Regions from separate parts of the Homo sapiens genome. Here all the other regions are linked to region 4. Evidence: promoter capture Hi-C in human tissues and cell types (Jung and others, 2019). All regions are on one chromosome and are shown on one strand. The core of a region is centred on a gene start or on the middle of the fragment in contact, and the rest is flanking DNA. Distances in the headings are between cores, read along the strand shown.

What was found. The method cuts DNA at HindIII sites, captures the fragments that hold promoters and counts their contacts. A contact is called where the count stands out against the background at its distance.
Region 1: a contact is called between the fragment with the promoter of ARHGAP39 here and the fragment with the promoter of BOP1 in region 4, in 4 of the 25 tissues and cell types used here (dorsolateral prefrontal cortex, heart left ventricle, heart right ventricle and 1 more).
Region 2: a contact is called between a fragment that was not itself captured here and the fragment with the promoter of BOP1 in region 4, in 1 of the 25 tissues and cell types used here (dorsolateral prefrontal cortex).
Region 3: a fragment that was not itself captured here is called in contact with the fragment with the promoter of BOP1 in region 4 in 2 of the 25 tissues and cell types used here (dorsolateral prefrontal cortex and heart right ventricle).
Region 5: a contact is called between the fragment with the promoter of RPL8 here and the fragment with the promoter of BOP1 in region 4, in 3 of the 25 tissues and cell types used here (lymphoblastoid cells, small bowel and spleen).
Region 6: the fragment with the promoter of ZNF251 here is called in contact with the fragment with the promoter of BOP1 in region 4 in 5 of the 25 tissues and cell types used here (dorsolateral prefrontal cortex, liver, lymphoblastoid cells and 2 more).

Annotation. Positions count from the first base shown.
Region 1 is chr8:144,684,535-144,687,234 of GRCh38, reverse strand. It overlaps ARHGAP39 (Rho GTPase activating protein 39), which reads left to right and starts at 1,389. Exons shown (of 12, transcript NM_025251.3): 1 at 1,389-1,549. RefSeq lists enhancers at 1,072-1,683, 2,297-2,700. The HindIII fragment of the contact is 13,771 bases long and covers 1-2,700 here.
Region 2 is chr8:144,722,430-144,725,129 of GRCh38, reverse strand. It overlaps ZNF251 (zinc finger protein 251), which reads left to right. Exons shown (of 5, transcript NM_138367.2): 5 at 1,748-2,700. Among named protein-coding and RNA genes, the nearest start is that of ZNF251, 32 kb to the left of the region's middle. The HindIII fragment of the contact is 3,424 bases long and covers 1-2,700 here.
Region 3 is chr8:144,609,543-144,612,242 of GRCh38, reverse strand. All of the region lies in intron 1 of ARHGAP39 (Rho GTPase activating protein 39), which reads left to right. Among named protein-coding and RNA genes, the nearest start is that of ARHGAP39, 75 kb to the left of the region's middle. The HindIII fragment of the contact is 3,122 bases long and covers 1-2,700 here.
Region 4 is chr8:144,290,155-144,292,854 of GRCh38, reverse strand. It overlaps BOP1 (BOP1 ribosomal biogenesis factor), which reads left to right and starts at 1,417. Exons shown (of 16, transcript NM_015201.5): 1 at 1,417-1,583. The coding sequence starts at 1,485. It overlaps HSF1 (heat shock transcription factor 1), which reads right to left and starts at 1,251. Exons shown (of 13, transcript NM_005526.4): 1 at 981-1,251. The coding sequence starts at 1,097. RefSeq lists enhancers at 454-513, 116-772 and silencers at 904-1,063, 1,174-1,673. The HindIII fragment of the contact is 19,250 bases long and covers 1-2,700 here.
Region 5 is chr8:144,790,946-144,793,645 of GRCh38, reverse strand. RPL8 (ribosomal protein L8) reads left to right here and starts at 1,256. Exons shown (of 5, transcript NM_001317782.2): 1 at 1,256-1,654; 2 at 1,732-1,873; 3 at 2,151-2,369. The coding sequence starts at 1,517. MIR6850 (microRNA 6850) reads left to right here and starts at 1,655; the gene lies at 1,655-1,715. RefSeq lists enhancers at 1-164, 2,577-2,700 and a silencer at 1,335-1,554. The HindIII fragment of the contact is 17,129 bases long and covers 1-2,700 here.
Region 6 is chr8:144,754,261-144,756,960 of GRCh38, reverse strand. It overlaps ZNF251 (zinc finger protein 251), which reads left to right and starts at 1,430. Exons shown (of 5, transcript NM_138367.2): 1 at 1,430-1,556; 2 at 2,158-2,265; 3 at 2,640-2,700. The coding sequence starts at 2,233. All of the region lies in intron 2 of LOC107986986 (a long non-coding RNA gene), which reads right to left. The HindIII fragment of the contact is 22,211 bases long and covers 1-2,700 here.

The sequences.
Region 1 (2,700 bases), core at 140-2,639, 390 kb before region 4:
ACGGGGGTGGGAAATGGTCGCCGCCAGTGTGTGGTCACGGGGGTGGGAAGTGCTCGCCGCCAGTGTGTGGTCACGGGGGTGGGAAATGCTCGCCGCCAGTGCGTGGTCACGGGGGTGGGAAATGGTCGCCGCCAGTGTGTGGTCACGGGGTGGGAAGTGCTCGCCGCCAGTGCGTGGTCACGGGGGTGGGAAGTGCTCGCCGCCAGTGCGTGGTCACGGGGGTGGGAAATGGTCGCCGCCAGTGTGTGGTCACGGGGGTGGGAAGTGCTCGCCGCCAGTGCGTGGTCACAGGGGTGGGAAATGGTCGCCGCCAGTGTGTGGTCACGGGGGTGGGAAGTGCTCGCCGCCAGTGTGTTGTCACAAGTTTAAGGTGAAGGCAGTCAGCCTGGATGTGTGATTTTCTTCAGCAGTCATGGAGGAGAAGGGTTGGGCTCGCCCAGTTGGGTTTTCTAAGTGAATACAGTGGAGAGGGAGCGGGAGGCGAAAAAGCAGAGCCCTGTGTATAAGAGTGAAGAGTGAAGTGTGACGACGGCCCAACAGGGAAGCGCGGGCGGCGAGACAGCCCGACGGGAGATCTCCTGAGGCGGGAGAGTCCCTGCAAGGCGACTGAGCTGCAGGGCAGGAGGTGGAGCTCCACGGATGACTTTTGACGGGGGCCTTTCAGCCCTTTGCGGCTTCTCACAGTTGAGGACCCAGGGAATGTCCAGGACTGAAGGGTGTGCGCCCCTGTCTTCTACTATCGAAGCTTCAGGCTGTTTAGCCTCCGTTTCTCCAGAAATGCCAGTCAGATTCAATTTCCAGAAACGCACCTGGCACTAAGAGAATCTAGAAAACCAGGCTGAACGCAGATTAGAAAACGCCGAATAGAGCACTAGTCGAGCTGCAGCTGAGTGAATTACCGAGTAAAAGTGACAGGACTAAAAAGGTGAGAATAACAGGAGGTGAAGAGACACGAGCCCGCCACAAGAAGGACTGAGGAACAGGGCAGCCCACGTTTTGAGAAGAATGGCTGTATTTCTAGAGTCGAAGAAAAGTGAAATCTCAGACTCGGGAAGCCCAACGTGGTTTGAGAGGGCAAAATTACACCAAACCACACCGAGACGTGTCAGATGGTAACTGCTCTGCACCGAAAGAGACGGGAAGACACCGCTAACTCACAGGGTAGGTCCGCGCGGGAGGCCTCTGGCGCGGCGACGGGGCGGGGCCAGGCGGCTCCCAGCATGCCGCGCGCGCCCTCCGCGGGACTCCGGCTCCCGGCATGCCGCGCGCCAGCGCATGCGTGATGCGGCCTCGCGAGGCAGTGCCCCCTGGCGGCGGGTAGTGACCGCCGCGGGGGCGGAGCCGGAGGCGGGGGGTTGCGCTTGGTGACGGGAGGACGCGCGGCCGCCGCGCACTGGGCCGGCGGCGGCGGCGGAGGACGCCGACAGCACGGGCTGCCGCGGCAGCAGCGGCGGAGCAGCAGAGAGGCCGGGGAGCGGCGGCTGGCTCACGCGCGTCGCGCGGGCCGGGATGAGGGACTGTGGCGGCGCGGCCCGCGCGCAGCCGGCCGGTGAGAGCGCGGGCAACGGGCGGTGGGCGGCGCGGGCCAAGAAGATGGCGGAGGGGCCGGCGCTGCGGTCCCCGTGGTCCTGGCCCAGCCTCGGCGGAGGCTCCAGGCCCGGCAGCGCAAGGAATCCAGGCCCGCGGCGACTGCAGCGGCGGGAGGGGCTGTGACTGGGCCGTGGAGGGAGGGGGCGTGGGTGTGCGGGGCCCGGCCGGGCGGGGGGCGCGGAGGCTCGAGGGGCCGAGGCCGCGCGGGGCCCGGGTGCGCGCCGACGGGCCGGGCTGGGAGTGTGAGGGTGGGTGAGTTCGCGTGTGCCCGGCCCGAAGTGGGTGTGACTGTACCCTGTCCAGAGTGAGTTGTGTCCCTGCCCTAGGTGGGTGTGAGTGTGCCCGGCCCCAATGTGGGTGTGGGTGTGCCCCTGTCCAGAGTGAGTGTGAGTGTGCCCCTGTCCACGGTGGGTATGAGTGTGCCCGGCCCGAGGGGAGTGTGGGTGTGTCCGGCCCCAGGGGGGTGTGAGTGTGCTCCTGCCCGAGGGAGGTGTGAGTGTGCCCGGCCCTAGATGGGTGTGAGTGTGCCCCTGCCCGAGGGGGGTGTGAGGGGACCCCGCCCGTGGTGGGTGTGGGTGCACGTGTGCCCAGCCTGAGCTCGGGGCACCGGCCGCATTCCCGGGCGCCGTCGGAGTGGGGACAAGGTGGATGCCCGCCGGTCGGGTCTGGTGCCCGCGTCCTGAAGGGCGGCCCGGGTGCAGGGCTGCGGTGCGCTGCGGTGCAGCCTCGGGCTTTGTCCCCGGGGCGCAGGGAGCGGACATGGGCGTCTCCAGGTGGGGTCATGGCCGCCTGCGGGTGGGCTCTGCGGCCTCGCCTCTGCGGCAGGCGCGGGCTGGGGCTCCGGCGCTCGGAGCCTTCCCCTCCCGGTTGCCCCCCGAGCTGGAATTCCCTCGGTTGCTTCCCGGTTGCTTCCCAGTTGCTGGAGTGCTGTGGGTGGAGGCGGCGTTCCGTGCCCAGGGCGGCGAGAGAGGCGGGCTGTGCATTTTGGGGCCCAGGACGTTTTTTATTTTAAAACGTGCAGCCGGCTCCTTGGCAGCTGTGGGTGTGTTCCGAGCCGCTTCCCACCAGCAGCTGCTGTGGGCGCTGCGCAGCTTCGGAAACGCAGCCGGG
Region 2 (2,700 bases), core at 72-2,571, 430 kb before region 4:
AGGCAGGAGAATCGCTTGAACCCAGGAGGTGGAGGTTGTGGTGAGCCGAGATCGTGCCATTGCACTCCAGTCTGGGCAACAAGAGTGAAACTCTGTCTCAAAGAAAAAAAAAACAAGAAAGAAAGAAAAAAGGTGGTGGTGGATACATAATTGTTTGAGTGCTAAATAAATTGACTCATAATTTAAAACCCTTCCTCAGAAAAAATGCCAAGCCCAGATGGCTTCACCGACTTGTACTAAACAGTTAAGGAAGAAATAGCAACTATCTTACATATATATCTATGTTCAATAAAAGTTGGTTTATGCTGTGCATATAATTTTAGAACCTGATTCTTCTCTTTGTAATATGAGCTTTTCATTTAATTATATATCTTTCTATTATAATAATGGTAGAATTGTATTCCATTATGTGAATAGTTTTTACTGGGTTTAAACAGCCCCGTTTTTGGACATTTGGGTTCTTCCTTGTTTCCCCCCAATTACAAAATGCAGCGAGCATCATTGTAGTCATTTCAACGTACATATGGCAGTCCACTTAGGATGGATCCTAGGGGAGTAGTTTGGGGGACAAAGGGTGTGTGAGATATCAATTTTTTGGCTACATATTGTCAGCTTTTTAAAAAAGTTATATTTTGGCTAGGCACAGTGGCCTGCACCTGTAGTCCCAGCTACTTGGGAGGCTGAGGCAGGAAGATTGCTTGAGCCTGAGAGGTCAAGGCTGCTGTGAACTGTGGTTGCACCGTGGCACTCCAGCCTGGGAAACAGAGCAAGACACTATCTCAAAAAAAGGTCATTTATTTACAGTCCCACCAACAGTACACGGCATGATTGTTGCTTTAATTCTTTTTTTTTTTTTTTTTTTTTTTTTGAGACGGAGTCTTGCTCTGTTGCCCGGGCTGGAGTGCAGTGGCGCGATCTCAGCTCACTGCAAGCTCTGCCTCCCGGGTTCGCTCCGCCTCCTGGGTTCACGCCATTCTCCTGCCTCAGCCTCCTGAGTAGCTGGGACTACGGGCGCCTGCCACCTCGACTGGCTAATTTTTTTGTATTTTTAGTAGAGACGGGGTTTCACCGTGTTACCCAGGATGGTCTCGATCTCCTGACCTCGTGATCCGCCCACCTCGGCCTCCCAAAGTGCTGGGATTACGGGCGTGAGCCACCGCGCCTGGCCCTGGCCCAGATTCTTTACATCAGGAACTCGGTGGATATTTTTGTGCATCACAGCCAGGCCCAGGCCTTCCTGTCTGTCACTGCTAACTTACTTCTTTTGTCAGGTTTCAGCTTGAATCTCACTCCTGGCATTTTCTCTGACCATGTAGACTAGGTTGGGGCCAATAACACATTTACACAGTTTCTGTCACATGGTGTATCATTATTTTTAAGAACTTACTTGCTATCTAATTGAGTAGAACATAAGCTTCATGAGATCAGAGACTATATTTACCTTCCTGTATATTCCTTACCTAGAACACGCCTGGCCTTCTAAATATTTGTTGAATAATTTGCCAATTTGATAGGTGAAAAATCGTAATTTGTTTTGATTTGACTACTTTGATAACTAATGAACTTGAATATTTTTATCCTGTTGATTGGCCATCCCATCTTTACTTCTGAATTCTGCCTTTCACATCTTTTCCTATTGGAGCATCTGCCTTCTGCATGATGGTTTATAGGAGCTTCTACCACATTATGGACATTATGCCTGATGGAAGGTTTTCTCTAGTAACTCATTTATATTTTTCTTTAACAGATTCTGAGGTTGGGACCAAGAAGGAACTATCTATTTTAAACCAAAAATTTTCCGAAGAAGTAAAAACCCCAGAATTTGTATCAAGAAGACTCTTAAGGGATAATGCACAGGCCGCTGAGTTTCGGGAAGCATGGGGCCGTGAGGGCAAACTCAAAGAGCGCGTGGGAAATTCTGCCGGGCAGAGTTTGAACAAACCCAATATTCACAAGAGAGTTTTAACAGAAGCTACCGTGGGCAGGGAAAGATCTTTGGGAGAAAGAACCCAAGAGTGTAGTGCATTTGATAGAAACTTGAATCTGGACCAAAATGTTGTTAGACTTCAAAGAAATAAAACAGGAGAGAGGGTCTTTAAATGTGATATATGCAGCAAAACCTTCAAATATAATTCAGACCTAAGTAGACACCAGAGAAGTCACACTGGGGAGAAGCCGTACGAATGTGGCCGGTGTGGGCGAGCCTTTACTCACAGCTCAAATCTTGTTCTGCACCATCACATTCACACTGGAAATAAACCATTTAAATGTGATGAATGTGGGAAAACTTTTGGACTCAATTCTCACCTCCGTCTTCATCGGAGAATTCACACTGGAGAAAAACCCTTTGGCTGTGGTGAGTGTGGGAAGGCTTTCAGTCGAAGCTCAACTCTTATTCAACATCGGATCATTCACACAGGAGAGAAACCCTACAAGTGTAATGAATGTGGAAGAGGCTTTAGCCAGAGCCCCCAGTTAACTCAGCATCAGAGAATTCACACTGGAGAGAAGCCGCATGAATGCAGTCACTGTGGGAAGGCCTTCAGTCGAAGCTCCAGCCTTATTCAGCATGAGAGAATTCACACTGGAGAGAAGCCCCATAAATGCAATCAGTGTGGGAAGGCCTTCAGTCAGAGCTCAAGCCTTTTCCTCCATCATCGGGTTCATACTGGAGAGAAACCCTATGTATGTAATGAATGC
Region 3 (2,700 bases), core at 81-2,580, 320 kb before region 4:
TGCAGCGGCGCAGCCGTGGCTCACCTCACTCTGTCGCCCTGGCTGGAGTGCAGCGGCGCAGCCGTGGCTCACCTCACTCTGTCGCCCTGGCTGGAGTGCAGCGGCGCAGCCGTGGCTCACTTCACTCTGTTGCCCTGTCTGGAGTGCAGTGGTGCAGCCGTGGCTCACTGCAACTTTGACCTCTTGGGTTCAAGGAATCCTCTGGCCTCATCCTCCTTTTTTTTTTTTTTTTTTACATGGAGTTTTGCTCTTGTCACCCAGGTTGGAGTACAATGGTGCAATCTCGGCCCACTGCAACCTCCACCTCCCAGATTCAGGCGATTCTCCTGCCTCGTCTTCCCGAGTAGCTGGGAATACAAGTGCACCCCACCATGTCTGGCTAATTTTTTTATAGAGACAGGGTCTCGCTATGTTGCCCAGGCTGGTCTTGAACTCCTGGCCTCAAGGGATCCTCCTGCTTCAGCCTCCCAAAGTGCTGGGATTGTAGACATGAGCTACTGTGCCTTGCCACCCTCTTTAAATTTAAATAAATAAATAGGTTATAAGTAAAAGAAGGATAAATGTTACACAATTCTAACTCTGATGTAAAGCAATCCGGAGTTACTGTAATATCAAATGTACTGATTTCAGAGCAAAGGAAACAACCAGGATAAAGATACTTCATGATAAAAGAGTTCATTCATCAAGAAGACACTGTAAATGTGTATGCACCTAATAACAGAGCTATAAAATACATGAAGCAAAAACTGATAGTGCAAAGAGAAGTAGACAAATCCACAGTTGTAGTTGGGACTCTCCTGACCTGTTTCTCAGTGATGGATAGAACAAGTAGAACAGAAATTAGTATCAGCACCATCAACCAGCCTGATCCGATTGGCTTTATACGCACTTCACCCGGCAGCACGTTCTTTTCCAGTGCACACGGGACATTTACCAGGATAGACCATTTTAGGGGACCATAAAAAGCATCAATAAACTTGAACAAATTCAAATCATATAAATTATGTTCTCTGAGAAAAACATAATTAGAAACCAATAAAAAATATCTGGAAGATGATTAGTTACTGAGTATATGTTCCATTAGTCAAAGAAGAAATCAAAAGAAAGGTTAGAAAGCTTTCTGAGGCTGGGCGTGATGGCTCACGCCTGTAATCCCAGCACTTTGGGAGGCAAAGGTGGGAGGATCCCTTGATCTCAGGAGTTTGAGACCAGCCTGGCTAACATGGTGAAACCCCATCTCTACTAAAAATACAAAAAAATTAGCCAGGTGTGGTGGCATATGCCTGTAATCCCAGCTACTGGGGAGGTTGAGGCAGGAGAATCGCTTGAACCTGGGAGGTGGAGGTTGCAGCAAGCCAAGATCCCACCACTGCACTCCAGCCTGGGTGACAGAGTGAGACTCCATCTCAAAACTCTTTGAACGGGATGAAAATGAAAATACAGCATATCAAAACTTGTCGGATATCATGAAAGCTGTACTCAGAGGGGTATTTTATAATACTAAATACCTAAAAAAAAATTTTTTTTTTTTGAGACGGAGTCTCTCACTGTCGCCCAGGCTGGAGTGCAGTGGCACGATCTCAGCTCACTGCAAGCTCTGCCTCCCAGGTTCACGCCATTCCCCTGCCTCAGCCTTTCGAGTTGCTGGGACTACAGGCGCCCGCCACCACGCCTGGCTAACTTTTTTGTATTTTTAGTAGAGATGGGGTTTCACAGTATTGGCCAGGATGGTCTCAATTTCCTGATCTCGTGATCCACCCACCTCGGCCTCCCAAAGTGCTGGGATTACAGGCGTGGGCCACCACGCCCGGCCCTAAATTTTTTTTTTAAATGTACAAATCACTGAACTCTGCTTCTAGCTTAGGAAATTAGAAAAAGGAAAGCAAATTAAGTCTAAAGGATGCAAAAGAAAGGAAACAAACATCAAAGTGGAAATTAATGAAAACAGAAAAATAGAAAAAAAACGATTAAGCTGTCTTTTTGAGGCAGTCAGTAAAATCGATAAGCTTCTAGCCAGAAAAGTGAAAAAAGCAAGACATTTTTATATCAATGTCAAAAATGAAAGATGTGGCATAGCTACAGAGTCTGTTGCTCTTAAGAAGATATAAAGGAATAGTATGGTATAATAACTTATGCCAACAAATGTGATTAATTTTATATGAAATGGGCAAGTTCCTTGAAAGACAAACCATTCATACTCACGTAAGAAGAAATTTTTAGAGCCTGCTCAGCTCTGTATCTATTAAATAGATTCAATGTGTAATTGAAAACCTTCCCACAAAGAAACTACATGCCCATCTGGCTTCACTGGAATCTCTGCCACACATTTAAGGAAGAAATAATAGCAATTCTATATAAACTCGCCCAGGAATTTGAGAGGAGGGAATACTTCTCATTTTGTTATGCTGGTATTACTCTGATAGCAAAACCAAAGATGTTACAAGAAGAAAATAGATGCAAAAATGAATATGAATATGGATGTAAAAATTCTTAACAAAATTTTAGCCAATCCCATTTGAGAATATATAAAAAGGACAATATGGCCAGGCGCGGTGGCTCACGCCTGTAATCCCAACAACTTTGGGAGGCTGAGGCGGTGGATCATGAGGCCAGGAATTCAAGACCAGCCTGGCCAACATAATGAAACCCCGTCTCTACCAAATATACAAAAAAATTAGCTGGGCATAGTGGTGGGTGCCT
Region 4 (2,700 bases), core at 168-2,667:
AAGTAGCTAAGACCACAGGCAAGCACCACCACGCCCGGCAAATTTTTTGTATTTTTAGTAGAGCTGGGGTTTTGCCATATTGTCCGGGCTGGTCTCGAACTCCTGGCCTCAAGTGATCCACCCGCCTCCGCCTCCCAAAGTGCTGGGATTACAAGCAAGAGTCACCCCACTCGGCCAGTGTGGCCCTTCTTCAGGTCATCACTTGCCAGCCGCAGGCGGTGGCTCTGCCCCTCACCGGACACGACGTCACAGCCGGGATGTGAACAGCAGATTCTGATCTCCAACTCCAGACAATCACTGATTTACTTCTGCAAACCGGAGCTGTCCGGTCTTGCAGGGTCGGACCATGTAAACAAGCCTGCTGCCAGGCAACTGAAGACAGAAACACGAATAAAGATGCCCCATAAGGAATGAAAAACAAAACTCCTCTTGGGAAACCCAGATTTGGGATTCGGAAACGGGCTTGAGATCAACCTGAAGCTTCATGACGTCTTACTGTTTCCACTGCCTTTCCTGTTCCACTACAGCAACGCCCTCCACTTCACGTGCCAAGTCCTGACTTTCTCCTAATAGTTGCCGACCCAGCACCCCGTAGGCTGTCCCCTGGGGACGCCGATGTCCTCTGGGGCATAGCGTCCGCTGGCGAAGCCGGGTGCTTGCCCTAAGCGCGGACACTTCCGCAACCGCCCAACAGTTAGCAGAAGCCCAATACAAGAGACGCCCCATTCTCCCCATCCCAGGGAAACTTCGCTGGGGCAGGGGTTGAACCGAGTGTGGGTCTCGTAGCCGCTTTCCCAACTTAAGGCTCTGGGTCTGAGCAGGCTCGGGACCCGCCGCCCTTCTCTGGCGGGGGCAGGGCAGGCTCACCGCGCGTAAGCTGAAGTGCGGCAGGGCCCCTCCCCGCAGCCCTCCCGCGCCGTCCGCCGCGGCCCTGCTCCCTCCCGGTCCCCACGGGCCCCGCGCCCGCGCGCTGCCCTCACCGGGCTCCAGCAGATGAGCGCGTCGGTGTCCGGGTCGCTCACGAGGGTCCACAGCTTGGTCAGGAAGGCCGGGACGTTGCTGGGCCCCGCCGCGCCGGGGCCCACGGGCAGATCCATCTCGAGCAAGGAGGGAATAGGCGGAGGGAGCGGCCGCAAAGAGGGGCCGAGGGCCGGGCTAACGCCGTCGCCGCGCCAGCCTTCCGGGCCGCGCCGCCGCCCGCTGCGCACACACAGCCCCGGGGCCCAGCATGGCCGCCGCCATCTTGCAACGGGCGCGCTCCCGCCGCCGCCGCTGCCGCCCTCCCGCGTCACCCCCGGCGCGAGCACGCAGGCCCCGACCCCGCCCTGGTCCCCGGCCCAGCCGCGCGCCTGCGCGTGTTGGTCCCACCCCCTTCCCTCCACCCGCCAATCGGGGCCGGGCTGGGCGGGGCGCGTCCTCCTGCGCACGCGGCCCGGTCGCTGTCGGAAGCGGCTGTGCGGGTGGCGGCCGGCGCGCGGTGGGGCATGGCGGGTTCGCGGGGTGCGGGGCGCACGGCGGCGCCGAGCGTGCGGCCGGAGAAGCGGCGGTCTGAGCCCGAACTGGAGCCTGAGCCCGAGCCGGAGGTGACTGTGGCGATGCGGGGCGGCGGGGCGCGTCCCTAGAGGGCCCGGCGGGCACGTGGCCGCGCTGGGGCGGGTGGGCCCGGCTTCTGTCACCTGGGCGCCCGCGCCCAGTGAATCGGTCTTGGGCGTGGGTGCAGCTCCTCTATCGGGGGGTCTCAGGCAGAGCGGACTGCGGGGTAAAGGACGGCGTCCGGGAAGCAAAGAAACGGGGGAGCGGGGAGTGGGGACGGGGCGCCCCTTGCAGCAGCCTCTCCAGCCGTTCCATTTGTGCATCCTGCCAATAAAAGGGCTCGGCTTGCGCTCCCAGTAAATGCTTAACCTACGTATACGCTAGTTAATTGCGTTTTTATGCTCATGGGATAGACATGAGAATAAGAAAACCTGAATAGAACCCAGTGTCTGCTGCATTTGCTGTATTAGAACTCACTGTTGCTCTCTGCTAGCTCAGCCCTGTCTTGGTTGTGGGGATCATCAAATTGGGTGGTGGAGGGGATGGACAGCCAGCCCCTCACAGCCCCCTCGGCCGCGGCCGCGCTGGGTTGTTGAAACTGCCCCATTGCTTTGTGAAGCGAATTCAACTCATCCTGGCTCCCATGGGCTGAATGGCCCGCAGGCCACTCTAGGCGCCAGGTTCTGCGACTTCCACCCTTGGACTAAACGGTCCTCAGGAGCCAGTTGTTTGCGCCCAGGCCACGGATGCCATTTCCACTAGTTATTGTGATTGTGTAGCCGACTGAATACCAAGACACATCATGACTCTGTGTGAGAGAGGCATTGTGTGAACACTCGGTATGCAATAGCTAATACATGCAGGTCGTACCTTAAGTGAGACTTGTAAACTATTAGGAAAACAGTAAAATCTAGAATTCTGCATTCAACTGCTTCCTTTTTCTTTTCTTTTCCTTTTCTTTCTTTTTTCTTTTTTTTTTTTTTGAGACAGAGCCTGGCTCTGTTGCCCAGGCTAGAGTGCAGTGGTGCAGTCTTGGCTCACTGCAGCTTCCACCTCCTGGCTAACTCAGCCTCCTGAGTAGCTGGGATTAGAGGTGCCCGCCACCACCAGCTAATTTTTGTATTTTTAGTAGAGATGGTTTCACCATGTTGGCCAGGCTGGTCTTGA
Region 5 (2,700 bases), core at 7-2,506, 500 kb before region 4:
CCTGGCCCTAGCTGTGGGCTGTGCTGCTTCCTGAGTCCCCACCGGGCAGCTCCTCCTCCATCCCCCTGCCGACCCTAGGGGAGGGCCTCCTGCAGCAGCCCCTCCTCTCCCCTGTGAGCAACAGCGGGCACAGGACACCCTTCCACCCTCTCCTGTCTCCTTCTCACGATGTCAACCCTGCCTCAGCCCCTGCAGGGTCTAGGAAACACCCCACCTCCCAGTACCGACAGCAAGCCTCTCCCGCCCACTGGGACCCCCGCCTTCACCTCCTTGCTGCCTCCCCACCCACGGCCTCGCGTGTGCTCGACAGTGCTCACTCAGCCAGGGACTCTCTCCTGGAAAACCTCTTCCCCACCATCCCCCACCCGCGGCCTCGGGGTCCCACCCGTTAGGGGCCCGATTCCGCGAAGCCCCTCTCCACAGCACGTACCGCAGGACACCCCCAGTCGGGCTGACTCTTTCCAGCTCAGGCCCCCACAGCCCCTCCCAGCCTCCATTTCTTGCTCCTTCCCCACCTCTCCCGCACAGGGTTCTGGTCAGGGTACGGTCCAGTCTCCCATTATTCGTCCACTCCGCAGCATGTGACCCAGCCCATCCCCGCTCCTTCTTCCTCGACCCGGGACCCTCCAGCTTGGCCCTCCCCACTTCCTGGGCCGGCCGGCCCTCACCCTCGGCAAGGATCCCGGGGCTCCTCTCCTCGACGCCCGACCTCTCCAAGGGCCTACAGTGGATAAGGTCCCCGCGTCCAGAAGCGCCCGTTCATCAGGGAGACGGACATTTGCCACCTGCAAACCATGACGTTCCACGAGTGGGTCCACGCGTCTCCCCTGCCCATCTCCTGCTCTGCACCAGCGAGAACCCCCTCGGCCTACACGGAAGCCCCTCACCAGGCAAGCCGGGAGCCCCAGACCCCGTGGCCCGGAGTGGGTCGCTCTGTGACACCCTGGACAGGTCACTCAACCACTTGGCGCCTCCTCGGCCACTCAGAAAACACCTGCCCTCCCGGAGACCCCGGTGAAAGCCGAGCACTCCTGCACCCTCCTTCCGAGCCCACGCACACCAGGACACCTTCAGCCGCGTCTCCTGGTGCGCCTGCGCGGGGGCCCTGGAGGAGGAGAAGTAGGCGGGGCCGGCGGCCGCTGGTGACTACAAGCCCCGGCGTGCACCGCGCTAGGCTGGCCGTGGCGCGCCCGGAAGGTGTCGCGGCCCTGGGCCCCGCCCCGGAAGATAAGGCCGCTCGCTGACGCCGTGTTTCCTCTTTCGGCCGCGCTGGTGAACAGGTAGGTCATCCTTGCGGCCTTGCGGCATGGGCAGTATCCGCCGCCATCCTCTTCCGTGAGGCGCGCTGAGACCCGGACCGGCCCTCCTGAGAGGATGCCGGTGCGGGCGCCCGCGGAGAGGGTAGGGAGTGGTGGGCGCGGCGGCCTCGGGGGCGGGGTCCCGGAAAGCCGGGCTGGCGGGGGTACCCGGGCCGCCCGGCCGCGCTAATCGTGAGTCGCCCCCAGGACCCGTCGCCATGGGCCGTGTGATCCGTGGACAGAGGAAGGGCGCCGGGTCTGTGTTCCGCGCGCACGTGAAGCACCGTAAAGGCGCTGCGCGCCTGCGCGCCGTGGATTTCGCTGAGCGGCACGGCTACATCAAGGGCATCGTCAAGGTGCGGAACGCTGGCCGGGGCGGGAGGGGAAGGGACGCCCGGCCGGAACGCCGCACTCACGCCGCCTCTGCCCACAGGACATCATCCACGACCCGGGCCGCGGCGCGCCCCTCGCCAAGGTGGTCTTCCGGGATCCGTATCGGTTTAAGAAGCGGACGGAGCTGTTCATTGCCGCCGAGGGCATTCACACGGGCCAGTTTGTGTATTGCGGCAAGAAGGGTTAGCATCGCGGCGGGGAAGGAAGGTCGGGGTGGGGAGGGGTCTGGGTGTTGCCTGAGGAGTTAACGTCCTAAGCCGATATGGGAACCTCGCAGGCAGAAGCTTCAGGTGGGGACATCCGCGTGGCCAGACCAGTGGCCACCGGTGGGTGCCGAGAGAGTTGTACCGGGAGGCTGGATGTTGAATGCTGTGCTCGCAACTTCGCGGGTTGCCTAGAGCGAGGGGGTTCGCATTGTTTCTTACTGTGCTGACGGCCTGATGCTGCTTCCCCTTGCAGCCCAGCTCAACATTGGCAATGTGCTCCCTGTGGGCACCATGCCTGAGGGTACAATCGTGTGCTGCCTGGAGGAGAAGCCTGGAGACCGTGGCAAGCTGGCCCGGGCATCAGGGAACTATGCCACCGTTATCTCCCACAACCCTGAGACCAAGAAGACCCGTGTGAAGCTGCCCTCCGGCTCCAAGAAGGTTATCTCCTCAGCCAACAGAGCTGTGGTTGGTGAGTATCAGGCAGCAGTTGAATGCTGAGGGCTGTGGGTGAACATGCTGTGAGTGCCGGTGGACAGCCAGTGGCTAGACTTGGTCCCTGGAATTCGATTACCTGTTGTTCTAAAACTTGGGTTCTGTAAGTTTGAGCTCATCCTGTAGTCTCAGTTGTCATCACTGTACAACAGGCACAACAGTACCTGCTTTACTGCTGTTGAGGCGTTAAATGAGATTGGGACGAAGTCACCAGGGTCTTGGATTCTACCGTGGGCTTCCTGATTGCTGCACTTGCATGCAGTTGGTTAACAGCCTTTTTAGAGAAGGCAGGGAGAGATTGTGGCTTT
Region 6 (2,700 bases), core at 181-2,680, 460 kb before region 4:
ACTGAGTGTACAGAAGACAATAGATTTATCTATTTCTGTGCTGCAAAAAGCATAATTATCTTCCATTTCCCCTTCTATGAATAACTAGCTATTTTCCAAATTCTCCCCATTATTTAAAAAAAACCACACACACAACAAACTCTGGAATGGGCACCCTTCTCTTTGTCATTTTTGTTATTTCCATAGGATAGATTCCTAGATTAATTGAAGTGTTTAAGGCTCTTTATGTACAGCTTAATTCATTTTCAACATTGTACTAAACACGCTTCCTCAAGCATAGCAGTGCGTAATTCTCCACAATCTCCCCAGCACTGATATTAATAATGTAAGGCATCTTCTTAATCATGTGTGACTTTGCATGGTGCTTTAGACTTCTAGACATTCTCCATCCTCGTTGATCGTCTCAAGTTCAGATATAAAATTTCTGCCTTGATTCTAACACAGTGTACAGGGCCTACACTATATTCTGGGTGACAAGATGGCTTGGCTTTCCTTTCCTTCTCCCCCTGCTCCTAAGCTGGTCTCCTCACCTTTATCAAGTGCTATTTTTTCAACCATGCTTTATTGTGTAGGGGCCAAAGGGAAAGTTCCTCTTTGCCCTCTGAAGGTTCACTGAAAGCCAACTCATAAAAGGCAGATTTTTGGAGAAAAGGCAAATAAATGGATTATTTATTTATTTATTATTTATTTTTGAGATGGAGTCTCGCTCTGTCACCCAGGCTGGAGTGCAGTGGCGCGATCTCGGCTCACTGCAACCTCCGCCTCCCGGGTTCAAGCGATTCTCCCGCCTCAGCCTCCGGAGTAGCTGGGACTACAGACGCCCGCCACCACGCCCGGCCTTTACCGCCAGTTTTCACACAGAAAAGCGGGGGGAACATCAGAGTCGTGTTTTTAGGTTTTGTGGCTGGCTTTGGGGGTCTGGCCTCTGGGACTCGCCTTGGGTAAAAGGGATTCACTCTGTGAGGAGCCTCGCGGGAGAAAAGAACTGAGACTGGAGGCCTGGGAAGGTCAGAGGGAAACTGCCTCCCAGGCCTTCATTTTGGGGCGTTGTGTTCTGAGCCCCGATAATTGTAACATCTTCATAAGCGACTTTCTGGTGGTTATGGTGAATCGGGACACACGATGTATGGTGACCGACGGGGGAGCCGGGAGCCCAGCGGGGTTAGGGTTCAGGTGAGGGTTTAGGGTCGGGGCGAGCGCGGCGCGGCCCGGATGCGCAGCGTCACCGCGCCAGACCCTCCGCTCAGCTGCCGTGGGCTCTCCCCCTCCCCGACCATAGACGGCGCAGGCCTCCAGTCATCCCAGAGCGGCCCCGGAAGAATCCGGGCGGAACCGCGGCTGGCTTCCGGTTCCCGGCGTTCTCGGAGGCGTACTGAGGCCCCGCAGGGGGCGGGGAAGCCTGCGTGTGCGCAGCTCGGCCCGGCCCGCCCTCTTCATCCTAGCCCGCCCCCTCCCCGGCTCTGGACCCGGTTCTGTGGGAGGGTCCGTTCCGGGCTCGGTGCGACTGCGCAGCTCCTCGGCGCTTCCTCGGTGGCTTCCCCGGGTCGAGCAAACAGGTGGGGCAGTGTCGGACCAGGAAGGAGCGCCAAGCGGGCAGGCAGGCGGGGAGGGCGCGGGGAGGGCGCGGGGAGGCGGCGGCCAGTCCAGGAGGAGCCTGTTCTGGGTGCCGCGGGAGCCACCGACGGGCTGCAGAGGCCGGGAGGAGGCGACCGCGGCGCGGCCCTAGAAGGCTGGACTGAGGACCACAGCTGGCTTCCGGCCTCTCCCCGGAGCCTGGGGCCTTCGGCAGCATCCCCGCGGCCTCCTTCTCACGTCCTCAGCCTTGGTGAGGCTGCACCCTCACGTGGCTCTTTGCCCCAGGTTGGCCAGGCAGGTAGAACGGCCCTGCACCCCATTTCCAGGGCCTTCAGCAGGTCTGGACCACGGGAACTGCCAGCTTTCACCCCTTAGCCGGGCGTCCCTGGATCCCCCCGGGCTCTGGCTCTGGCCGTTCTGGGATTTCAGGAGTCACTGAGCAGTAGGGCACGTCGGCCCGTGCTGCATAGTGACCTGCCTCCCGCGACCCAGGAGGCCACAGCAGCAATCAGCTTCTGCCTCCTGGCCATCCTTCCACACCCCTGGTTGAATGGGGCTGAGCCTGAGTTCTCCCCACTGAAGGTAAGTTCGGGGAGACTTCAGGCCAGGGCAGTCTCCTGTCTTCTCTTGGAAACCACAGCAGCCCATGCACACAGAATGGCAGCCACATTCCAGCTTCCAGGGCACCAGGTGAGTTAACCCTCCTTCCTGCCCACCTCTTCATCTTCATCCCCATCCCAGTCAGAAGCTACTCTCCTCTGGAGCCGTGAGCCCGGCAACTGGTAAGGCCAGCCAGGGGCTCATAGCAACCGTGAGGAAAGGGTTCTGAGAGGTAGACTCGCCCTCCTGCAGGGAGAGGGGCTCTGAGCTCAGCTGGGTCCCCGTGTAGCTGAAGTTGGCTGGTCCTCAGCGCTCTCAGCTGCCCCATCAGGGACCTGCTGATACACAGTTCATACTGACCACAGCAGGGCCCTGGGTAGTGGGGCCCCACCAGGTCAGGGCCCTTTTAGTGCAGGCTGCTGCCCCGTGGGCATGGCCTGGGCAGCGGCGATGTTTTGTTGCAGGAGATGCCGCTGACCTTCCAGGATGTGGCCGTGTACTTCTCTCAGGCGGAGGGGCGGCAGC